4 separate regions of the Homo sapiens genome follow, and regions 1, 2 and 3 are each linked to region 4. Evidence: promoter capture Hi-C in human tissues and cell types (Jung and others, 2019). All regions are on one chromosome and are shown on one strand. Each heading gives the region's core, a stretch centred on a gene start or on the middle of the fragment in contact. The rest is flanking DNA. Distances are from core to core; before and after follow the strand shown. Region 1 has its middle 19 kb from the start of CARD10. Region 2 holds the start of CARD10 (caspase recruitment domain family member 10). Region 3 holds the start of GALR3 (galanin receptor 3). Region 4 holds the start of LGALS1 (galectin 1).

The links. The method cuts DNA at HindIII sites, captures the fragments that hold promoters and counts their contacts. A contact is called where the count stands out against the background at its distance.
Region 1: a fragment that was not itself captured here is called in contact with the fragment with the promoter of LGALS1 in region 4 in 1 of the 25 tissues and cell types used here (mesenchymal stem cells).
Region 2: a contact is called between the fragment with the promoter of CARD10 here and the fragment with the promoter of LGALS1 in region 4, in 1 of the 25 tissues and cell types used here (mesendoderm cells).
Region 3: a contact is called between the fragment with the promoter of GALR3 here and the fragment with the promoter of LGALS1 in region 4, in 2 of the 25 tissues and cell types used here (bladder and dorsolateral prefrontal cortex).

The regions. Positions count from the first base shown.
Region 1 is chr22:37,537,373-37,540,072 of GRCh38, forward strand. No RefSeq gene overlaps it. Among named protein-coding and RNA genes, the nearest start is that of CARD10, 19 kb to the left of the region's middle. RefSeq lists enhancers at 576-785, 892-1,393, 1,394-1,893 and a silencer at 1,512-1,701. The HindIII fragment of the contact is 4,240 bases long and covers 1-2,700 here.
Region 2 is chr22:37,518,165-37,520,864 of GRCh38, forward strand. It overlaps CARD10 (caspase recruitment domain family member 10), which reads right to left and starts at 1,251. Exons shown (of 20, transcript NM_014550.4): 1 at 802-1,251. The coding sequence starts at 1,036. The HindIII fragment of the contact is 30,090 bases long and covers 1-2,700 here.
Region 3 is chr22:37,821,917-37,824,703 of GRCh38, forward strand. GALR3 (galanin receptor 3) reads left to right here and starts at 1,466. Exons shown (of 2, transcript NM_003614.2): 1 at 1,466-1,849. The coding sequence starts at 1,491. The HindIII fragment of the contact is 28,947 bases long and covers 1-2,787 here.
Region 4 is chr22:37,674,231-37,676,945 of GRCh38, forward strand. It overlaps LGALS1 (galectin 1), which reads left to right and starts at 1,406. Exons shown (of 4, transcript NM_002305.4): 1 at 1,406-1,481. The coding sequence starts at 1,473. RefSeq lists a silencer at 1,209-1,348. The HindIII fragment of the contact is 16,498 bases long and covers 1-2,715 here.

The DNA of each region.
Region 1 (2,700 bases), core at 103-2,602, 140 kb before region 4:
CATTTGCTTTTAAAAAGAAGTGGGGGAATGTGTGTGTGGTGTGTGTGTCTGCATATACTGTGTACATGTACATACATATATACATATATAAATCATCCCAGATCATCTCTGGGAGAATATGGAGGAAACTGCCATCAGTTATTGTTTTTCATTTATTTTTTATTTATTTATTTTATTTTTTTTTTTTTTTTGAGATGGAGTCTCGCTCTGTTGCCTAGGCTGGAGGGCCATGGTGCGATCTTGGCTCACTGTAACCTCCACCTCTCGGGTTCAAGCAATTTTCCCTGCCGCAGCCTCCTGAGGAGCTGGGATTACAGGCACCCCCCACCGCTACCACATCTGGCTAATTTTTGTATTTTTAGTAAGGGTTTCGCCGCATGGCCAGGCTGGTCTCAAACTCCTGACCTCAGGTGATCCGCCTGCCTCAGCCTCCCAAAGTGCTGGGATTACAGGCATGAGCCACGGTGCCAGGCCTTTTTTGTTTGTTTGTTTTAAATAGAGACAGGGTCTCACTATGTTGCCCAGGCTGGTCTCGAAGCCCTGGCCTCAAGTGAACCTCCTGCCTTGGCTTCCCCAAAGTACTGGGATTACAGGCGTGAGCCACTGCGCCCAGCCAGCTGTTGTCTTTTAGAGGGGAACTGGAGGCCTACATAAAGTTGGTTTCGTTTTCTTTTGTTTTTTGAGACAGAGTCTCACTCCATCGCCCAGGCTGAAGTGCAGTGGCACAATCTTGGCTCACTGCAACCTCCACCTCCCCGGTTCAAGCAATTCTCCTGCCTCAGCCTCCCGAGTAGCTGGGATTACAGGCATGCACCACCACAGCCGGCTAATTTTTGTATTTTTAGTAGAGACAGGGTTTCACCATATTGGCCAGGCTGGTCTCAAACTCCTGACCTCAAGTGATCCGCCCACCGTGGCTTCCCAAAGGGCTGGGATTACAGGCGTGAGCCACTGCACTCAGCCCTACGTAAAGTTTTAACCCAGTTAAGTATATTTTTTAAATCACTAAATAGTTCACACATATGCAAATGTTTAGAGAAAAACAATGAACACCAAAATATTCAAAAAGACTAATGTTTGGAAAGTACTCAGAATTGTATTCCCCAAAAATTCATTCCCCCAAGACCCACAGGCCTCAGGGGTCTGCAGGTCTCTCTCAGGGCCAGAGACGGGGAAGGGGCCACCTGGCAAGGGCGGTCCTTGGCACCTTCCCCCCTTTACAGAAGAGGTGTAGAGATGAGGGTCTCACTATGTTGCCCAAGCTGGTCTCGAACTACTGGGCTCAAGCAATCCTCCTGCGTCAGCTTCCCAATAGCAGGACACCCTGAGAAGTCTGAAGGCTCACGCCCAGACCCACGCACAGGTCTAGTTTTGGTCCACAGCATGGCGTGGGTGTGGCTTTGGAGTTGGCGGCAGCTGAAGGCTGGGTGACGTTAGCAAGGTCTCAGCCTCAGTCTCCTTATCTGAAAAACTGGATAGTAATTCCCTCTTTATACTGCGGCCATGAAGAAGAGGGCTGATGTGGGTGGAGTGACTGGTGGGGCAGGCGCTCTGTAAGTGGCTGTCAGCAGGGCAGGGGCTGGGCTCAAGCCTGTGACCACACTGCTCCAAGCTGGACACACGGTGGCGCCCTCGTCCCACAGGTGCAGCACCAGTTCTAGCCTCTGGTGGCATCGGTTACTGGAGGGAGGGAGGGAAGAAGAGAGGAACGGAGTTATATTTGCAAACACACTGCCCACTCTGGGCCCTAGGGGTGGAAAAGTGAATGAGGACCACACAGTTCCTACTCAAGGAGGCTGGATTGGAGGGGCTGGGAGCCCCAAGGAGGAGAGGAACGTGGGAGAGGGCACTGCCTGGGGATTTTGCAGTGGGTTGACTGGTGGCCCCCCTGCAAAAGACACGTCCACCTGGGACCAGGGAATACAGTCTTATTTGAAAAAAGAGTCTTTGCGAATGTAATGAAGATAAGAATCTCGGCCGGGCGCGGTGGCTCACTCCTGTAATCCCAGCACTTTGGGAGGCTGAGGCTGGCGGATCACCTGAGGTCAGGAGCTCAAGACAAGCTTGACCAACACAGCGAAACCCCCTCTCTACTAAAAATATAAATAAAAAATTAGCCAGGCGTAGTGGCGGATGCCTGTAATTCCAGCTACTTGGGAGGCTGAGGCAGGAGAATCGCTTGAACCCGGGAGGAGAGGGTTGCAGTGAGACCAGATTGCACCATTGCACGCCAGCCTGGGTGACAAGAACGAAACTCCATCTTAAAAAAAAAAAAAAGTAAGGATCTCAAGATGAGATCGTCCTGGATTATCCGTGGGGGGCCAAATCCACTGACAAGTGTCCTTACAAGAAGAGAAGATGCTGACACAGAGGGAGCTACACGGAAATGTCGGCAGAGGCAGGAGCGAGGCTGCCATAAGGCAAGGACACCTGGAGCCACCAGAAGCGGGAAGAGGCAAGGAAGGATTCTCCCCTAGCACCTTCAGAGGGAGCGGGGCCCCTCCAACACCTTGATTTCAGACTTCTGGATTCCAGAACTAATCATTTTTGTTTGTTTGTTTTTCAGTGACAGGGTCTTGCTCTATTGCCCAGGCTGGAGTGCAGTGGTGTGATCATAGCTCACTGCAGCCTTGACCTCCTGGGCTCAAGCGATTCTCCCACCTCAGCCTCCCAAGTGGCTGGGACTCCCAGCTCACACCA
Region 2 (2,700 bases), core at 1-2,500, 160 kb before region 4:
TGGTTGCTTCTGCCCCCACCATGCTCCAGGCCCACGTTCCCCAGATTTTTGAGCCAGTGACACACACAGGGGCCTGTCCCAACACATCAGGGAAGAGAAGAGAGCCATTCTGCCACAGCCAGGGGAGCACATTCCCTCATGACTCCTGGGCTCCCAGAGCTCCCCAACACCCCCCACAGACACAGATGCCGGCCCGCAAATGCAGCCTGCCTTTTCAATGGCACAGAGAAGCCCCCTCTATCCCCAGAAGCAAAGAAAATACTTCTCCCATTGGCCATGCCTGAAATTCCACCATTAAAGACCATTCCATCATGCCTTTTTGAGTTCTGGTTCAAAGGCACACCCTGTGGGAGTGGGGACCCACGTAAAGCTGAGACGGATCTTGACACTTGAAAAAGGACTCCCCCAGGAGTGTATGGTGCACAGAGGAGGGGACAGACAGAACTCGGAGATCAAAGAGCGCAGGAAAGGTGCCAAGTCCACCGGCTGTGACCGGGAGGTCCCAGGCCCAGCCGGCCCTGGCAGCCACATCCAACCTTCTGCTCTAATGTGGACCCAGGAAGTGGGAGAGAACCCCAAGAGACAAAACTCTGACCCCGGTGTGGGCAACGCGGACCGCCAAGGCGCAGTGGTGGGTGGGGAGGAGGCAGGCTGGTGGGCATACCCAGCCGGCCCACTCTACTGATGCGGAGACCGAGCCCCAGGGCAGCAGAGCCCTAGCTTCGCGCTACACGGCTGTGGGCGCTGCGCCCCAGGGCACGGCCGGCCCAGGTCGTGGCCCACTCGGGACCCGCGGCTCACCGGTGCGGTTGACGCGGCACGGGAAGCGGTAGGTGCTCAGCACCTCCTCCTCGTCCTGCTCGTCGATGACCCGGCACTGGCGCAGATACGGCGTGAGCTTGGCCGGGTTCAGGGCGCGAGCCAGCCGATGCCGGACGCCCTCGATTCGCTCCCACAGCGCGTCCTCCTCCGCCTCAGACCCCGAGCCGGCCCCGGCCTCCTCCTCGGCCTCCCCCGCCTCCGCCCGGCCCGGCATGGCCGTGTCCTCAGGGTCTGCGGGCAAGAGGCGCACGGGGGTCGACCAGGGCTCCCTAGGGCTAGATGTGCGGCCAAGCACCCCCGGGGCGTCGTCCGCAGACCCGCCGTCGGGGGCGCGCCCCGAGCTCCCCGCGACTCACCCCGCACGCTACAGTCGCCTCGGGCTCCCGGGTCCGCACTCGGGCGGCGGCTCCGCCGGCGCAGGGGGGCGGTGCCCGTGGCGCCCCCGGCTCCGCCCCCGTCCCCGCAGCCTCCTGGGCTGCCCGGGCCTCCCCACATTGCCGCCCGCCCCGGGTCGTGCGTCCGGCCCCCGGCCACCCCGCGCGTCCGTCTGCACGCCCTCCCTCCCGGCCGTCCGGCTGCGCCTCCCCCTGCTTCCTGTTTCCCGCCGGCTCTCCAGCCCGGCTCGGCGGGGTCCTGGCCGCCCGCCCACACCTGCCCGGCCTCTGGGCGGGGCGGGGGCGGGCAGGCGCGCTCACACCCCCCGCGCGCCGCGACACACCTTCCCCGGGCCACGCGCATCGCCTCCCCACGCCCACAGCGCGCCCGCCCGTGCGGGGCTAGCCGCTCACGCCCGGCGCAGCCCGCGGGCACTCAAGCTGGGCTTGCCCTTCTCGGGTCCCCACATGCACTGCGGGCGCGGGAGCTTCCCTGGAGCGCAGGACAGCCCCGCGGGGGACAGCAATGGGCAGAGGTCATGGGGGCTTTCTGCAAGATGGGGGTCTGAACCTGCAGGGCAGCACTGCCAACTCCCCTCTTACGCAAACTCCCGTGGCACTTGAGGACCAGGGACCCCACAATTCTCAAAGGGTATTCCTCCAGGTGTTGGTCCCAGAGATGCTGGGGGCGGGCTGTGACTAGCCATCCATACTCCCGCTCCTGCCTGGGAGGCCGGTGGTGTCTTACCATGATACTGGCCGAGTCTACACGGTATCTGCTGGTGCATGCGATACAGTCTCGCTATGCATTAGAAGCTGCCAGGTACCTGCTGCCAGGGAGGAACAGAGGAGGCACAACCGGTACAGGAAAGAGGTGTGAGCTCCCTAATCGCCTTCCACAACTTCTGAATTAGATGCCGTGGACATATGTATTACTTATCCAAAGAATTAAGGTTTCAATCAATAAAGGCTCTGAAAAGCCCTGCTTAAATTAAGGCCGGGGGCGGTGGCTCATGCCTGGAATCCCGACACTTTGGGAGACCGAGGCGAGTGGATCACCTGAGGTCAGGAGTTCGAGACCAGCCTGACCAATATGGCGAAACCCCATCTCTACTAAAAATATAAAAATTAGCTAGACGTGGTAGTGCGCGTCTGTAATCCCAGCTACTCGGGAGGCTGAGGCACGAGAATCGCTTGAACCCAGGAGGCGGAGGTTGCAGTGATATCGTGCCACTGCACTCCAGCAGCCCGGGCAACAGAATGAGACTCCCCCTCAAAAAAAAAAAAAAAAAAAAAAAAAGCCCCAGCAGTAAAGAAACAGATTTAACTTTATATATCCTGGTGTCCTTTTCCAAACTTAATTAACCACAGCCTTTTTTTGGTTTGCATTTGTTGTACATTTGTTTTTGTTTTGGGTGTCACCTGTTTACATGCAGAAGAAATGCTTTGGGAGAACTGAATTCTAGTGCAAATTCCTCAATTAACAAAGGAGGAAGCAGAGCTC
Region 3 (2,787 bases), core at 216-2,715, 150 kb after region 4:
GGTCTCGAATTCCTGGCCTCAAGTGATCTGCCTGCCTCAGCCTCCCAAAGTGCTGGGATTACAGACGTGAGCCACCATGCCCGGCCTAGGAACCTTTTCTAAACATGGATTGGAGCAAGAAGGTGCAGGGATAGGGGATGGAGTCACATCAGGCTGGGCCACAGGAGGTGGGAGTGCCAGAGACTGGCTGGGCCCTGGGCACAGAGGGGTTAACTACAAAGCAAATCACAGAGAGCGAGATCAATGGGTTACTGGCTGCAGAGAGAGGAAAAGGCAGCAGCAACGCAGAGAGGCAGAGAAGAGCCAGGCAGAAGAGCCTGCCACCTGGGGGAAATCAGGGACTGAGGAGGAAGTGGCCAGTGGCTACTCCAGAGGGAGTGCCCAACTCCGGCTCAGCAGAGGGGGCAGAGGAGAGGAGGGGCCTTAAAGGCAAAGGGGGAGAAGTAGAAGGCAGACCAGTACCTGCAGGGAGGCACCAAGGGGCAGCCGCTGAATCAGGAGGCCCACCCAGCCCGGCCATTCCACCCAGGATCAAGCCCACTGCCCAAGGCGGAGGTGGGTGTTGCCCATCCTGGGCTTTGGGGACCTACTGCATGCTGGGTGCTGGGATGGGGGCAGACATTGCCTTTCTTCCCTACTCCCTGCCTGACCCCCCTTTCCCCTACTTTGTCCCACCACCCCAGTGGTCTCAAGCCTGCAAGGAGATCCACAGGCAGTAGGAGACATGGGCTGTAGAGTGGGATGGGGGTGAGCATGGGTGCGGTGTGCACACACACAAGTTGTCAGAGGCACCACCTGTTACAAGCTCTCAGATGAGCACTCTAGCTTAAGAGGCAGGATACCAGGGTGGCAACAGCCCCAGAGCTGCCATTTCGAGTGTGATATTATCCTCCCATGTCCCCTCTCTGGGCCTCAATTTCCCTATGTGCAGAGAGGAAGCAGTGACCTACACGGTCTTCCCAGTTTTGCCATTGTGATGATCTCACTATACTGGACCCTCCAATGACTCAGGGATGTTACCCGTGTTTTGCTAAGGCTACAGCTTGTAGCCAGAGAAAGCCCTAAACCCATGTCCCAGGGTCTCCCCTGAGCTTCAGATCCCCATTGAGAAGGAAAACATACCAGTTTCTGGGTTTGGCCCCTCCCCCCATCGCCATATCTTCATCCTACTTCGCTTGTGCCTTCCCCAGCCTCGTGGGTTGAAAGTGTCCCTCAAATACCTAGGTAGTCCTCCAGGCAGGACTCCAGGGGTGTTCCTTAGGAAACTGAGGAACTCTCACCCCTTGAACACCACGAGCTTGCTCACACAGTGACACTCAGCGATGACTTTGGCTCTGCTCTCCCCTCCTCCATCTCCCACGAGCTTCCAGCCCAGAACACCTGGCCAGACCCAGGTCGGGGGAGTTAGATCCCGGGGTCAAGCAACCAGAACTGGGGGCTCTTGCCTGAGGATTCCAGCTTCTCTTCCCAGGTGCCCGTCTGATGGGGAGATGGCTGATGCCCAGAACATTTCACTGGACAGCCCAGGGAGTGTGGGGGCCGTGGCAGTGCCTGTGGTCTTTGCCCTAATCTTCCTGCTGGGCACAGTGGGCAATGGGCTGGTGCTGGCAGTGCTCCTGCAGCCTGGCCCGAGTGCCTGGCAGGAGCCTGGCAGCACCACGGACCTGTTCATCCTCAACCTGGCGGTGGCTGACCTCTGCTTCATCCTGTGCTGCGTGCCCTTCCAGGCCACCATCTACACGCTGGATGCCTGGCTCTTTGGGGCCCTCGTCTGCAAGGCCGTGCACCTGCTCATCTACCTCACCATGTACGCCAGCAGCTTTACGCTGGCTGCTGTCTCCGTGGACAGGTGCGCTGTGCCTGGGGCCTGGCTGGGCAGGGCTGTGGGGGCGGGGGTTGGGGGAGGAGTCCTGAACAGATCCTCACTGGCCTTAGGAAGGAGAGAGTGGGGGACCAGAAAGGGAGGTGGGTGGGAGGAAACAAAAGCTCCCTGACCCCTCGCAAGCAGCCTCTGGGCACCTGCAGGGCGTGCTTGAGGGGACTGTCCTGCCCTTCCCCTCCTCCACTGTGAACTTCCAGAGGACGCCTCTGAGTCTCAAGTGGCAGCACAGGGTCTGGCACATAGTAAGTGCTCTGTAAGCGCGAAATGAATCGCAAAAGAAGCTCACGAATGCGTTCATCAGTTTTTTTGTTTTGTTTTGTTTTGTTGTTTTTTTTTTTTGGATCTTGGCTCACTGCAACCTCTGCCTCCTGGGTTCCAGCGATTCTCCTGCCACAGCCTCCTGAGTAGCTGGGATTACAGGCCACCACACCTGGCTAATTTTTTGTATTTTTAGTAGAAACGGGGTTTTGCCATGTTGGACAGGCTGGTCTCGAACCCCTGACCTCAAGTGATCCGCCCGCCTCGGCCTCCCAAGTGCTGGGATTACAGGCGTGAGCCACCGCGCCCAGCCCAGCTATTTTCTAACTGCCCACACCTGGCCAAGCTGTGCACACATCTGCTTCCACAGCTTGAAACTTGGGGTCAAATCCAGGCTCACTCCAGCTGATGACCCTGGGCAAGTCACTTCTCTCTGGACCTCATCTGACGCATCCATAAAATAATCCTAGAAATAACAAGTCACCGGGATCGGGCCCTTGCTAGGTGCAAGGGCCTAAGCACCTTGCGCGTTCACACCCTTAATCCCCGCCACGTCCCCCACGGTTCACAGGAGGCGCACTGGGCCGCAGGGCCCGGGCGCGGGACGTGGCGCGGGCCCCTGCGGGAGGGCACCTGCCCGCCCCGCT
Region 4 (2,715 bases), core at 156-2,655:
GGCTAGTCTCGAACTCCTAACCTTAGGTGATCCGCCCGCCTCGGCTTCCTAAAGAGCTGGGATTACCGGCGTGAGCCACTGCGCCCAGCCCATCATCTACTTCTTAACGTGGTTGTGGTCAGATTCCACCCCAACTATGCGCTCCTTGAGAGTGGGGACTGGGAGGGGTTCAGCTTTGAATCCTCAGAGCCCAGGGCCAGGTACATAGTAGGTGCTCAGTAAAATACCTGCTGAACACTCAGGGAAGGGAGGGCTGTGCCGGGCCTCAGAGGAGATGTTAAGAGAGCAGACAGGGTGGCCAGGCATGGTGGCTCACACCTGTAATCCCATTACTTTGGGAGGCTGAGGCGGGTGGATCAACTGAGGTCAGGAGTTTGAGACCAGCCTGGCCAACGTGGTGAAACCCCGTCTCTACTAAAAGTACATAAATTAGCCGGGTGTGGTGGTGGGGGCCTGTAGTCCCAGCTACTCGGGAGGCTGAGGCAGGAGAATCAGTTGAACCTGGGAGGCAGAGGTTGCAGTGAGCTGAGATCACGCCACTGCACTCCAGCCTGGGCGACAGAGCGAGACTCCATCTCAAAAATAAATATATAAATAAATAAAAATAAAAAAGAGAAAGGACAGGGTGCACAGAGCCAGGACCCCACCCCCTCCTGGTCTGGACCACCCTGGGCCATCTCCTAAGCTTGACACTCTCAGGCCTGAGGCTGTCAGGCCAGGGCGCTTTGACTATCCCCTGCCTGCCCCTGAACGCGGCCAAGCCCGAGGCCTTAGCCAAGCCCTGCAGCCTCAGGCTTGGCGCCCGGCCCAGCCTTTCTTTAGCCTTCCCGAGGAGCCAGCGAGAGAGCGCTGCAGCAGCCGCAGTCCTTGCTTCCGGGGAAGGCCCGGGTGGGGCCAGGGCCTGTGGTTAAGTCAGTGGCCCTCTGCAGACGCGCACGCAGCAGGAGCCACGCCCTGGTCCCTGCCCGGGAGTGGCCTGGTCTCCCCCAGCTCTGATTCCCTGAAGGACCCTGCACCTCCTCAGCCATCTTCTCTGGGCACCCCCTGAGCCCAGCCTGCTGGCCACAGGCCCCTTCCCGCCAACTTGTGGGCCTAGCTCATCATCAAACTATTTTCCACTGGCTTCCCCCAATCTCTGCCACAGCACAATTTTGGTGGGGAGGTGGAGAGGGATGAAGGAGAATAGGAGGTGGAGCTTGGACTCTGGCCGGGGGCGGCGGGGTGAGGGGGGGCAGCAGCTCGCCACTCTGATTGGTCACCTCTGCTCCAAAACTGGCTTCAAAATTCCACGGACTCCGCCCCCAGTGGCCCCCAGCCCTATCCTGACTTGCAATTGGCTGAACTTTCAGGGGGCGGGGCTCACCCGGTCCGGTCCAGTTAAAAGGGTGGGAGCGTCCGGGGGCCCATCTCTCTCGGGTGGAGTCTTCTGACAGCTGGTGCGCCTGCCCGGGAACATCCTCCTGGACTCAATCATGGCTTGTGTGAGTGTGGGGACCCCCCCCCAAGGTCCAGGGGATAGGGCAGGAACTGATGGCCAGAGGAGAGCTGGGCAGATCGGGAGCAGATTCTAGCCCCAGCTGTGTGGCCTGGAACCAGTGCCTTCTCTTTTCTGGACCTCAGTGGCCACATCTGTAAAATGGGGGTGGGCGCCATGGTCCCTCAAGGCCTTCTCTGCATTGATAATTGTCTGGATTCCTCCAGGGTCTGAAAGCACAGTTATTTCTGCCCAGGGTTGACATTCTGCAGCTCTCTGAGAAGTGAGCGTGGGAAGGGTGTGGCCAACTGGGGGACACCCAGGCCACTATCCCTTTCCCCCTCCTCCACCCCAAAGAGCCTCCTGTCCCCTCCCCCCTGCAGCTGTCCCGGTCACCAGGCCAGGGCAGAGTTACCCTCTGCTCCAGAGAACGCTGAAAAGTTGCCAGGACCCGAGACAAGCTGCCCAGGATGGGCCCTTCTAGGTCGGGGGTGGAGGGTGGTTGTGTCCAGGCTGGTGGCGGGGGGGGCGGGGGAAATTCCCTTCCACCACCCCCAAGCTGGGAGGTTGGGGTGGCAGGGAGGTGAGAATCTTCCTCGGGCCCCAGGGAAAGGGTTCAAGTTTCTGGCAGAAGAAACCACTCAAACCAGTTAACTCTTGCCCACCCACTCGGGGTGCCAGGGAACAGCAGTGCCCAGCAGTTTGCTCAATCTTGTTAACCCTGAGCCAGCCCAGCCACAGCCCGACTGCAGGGCTATTCTCCCTAATGCAGAGAGGCCGTGTTTTTCAGGGTCTCCTCTCTAGCCCCTGGGCCTCTTTGCAGAGAGGGGCTTGAAGGAGAATAGTGGGGTCGCCCGCCCCTAGCCACTTCCTCTCCAGCAGAGGGGCCGGCCCCTCCATTCAGTGTGACGGTGGGCCAAGTGTCGGCCCCTCCCCAGCCTGATCCTCTCCATCTGCGATGGGACAGAGCACCCCATCTCCCAAGTCACTCTTGAGTCCAAAATTCCCAAGCCAATCTGCAAAATCTTCTAGAGCCTGTCTTCTAGAACCTTCACGTTACAGACTGAAGCCAACCCCGGTGGGAATAGGGACTTTCCCAGGACCACATAGACAATCGGAGGCTGGAAATTACAGCTCAATCCTTTCCCCAGGCTTCCCCTTGGCTTGGTCAGAGGATGCCGGGCGGGAACAACCCCACTCCCACCCCCAGCCACCCCCGGACACTTCGAGCAGTGGAGGCC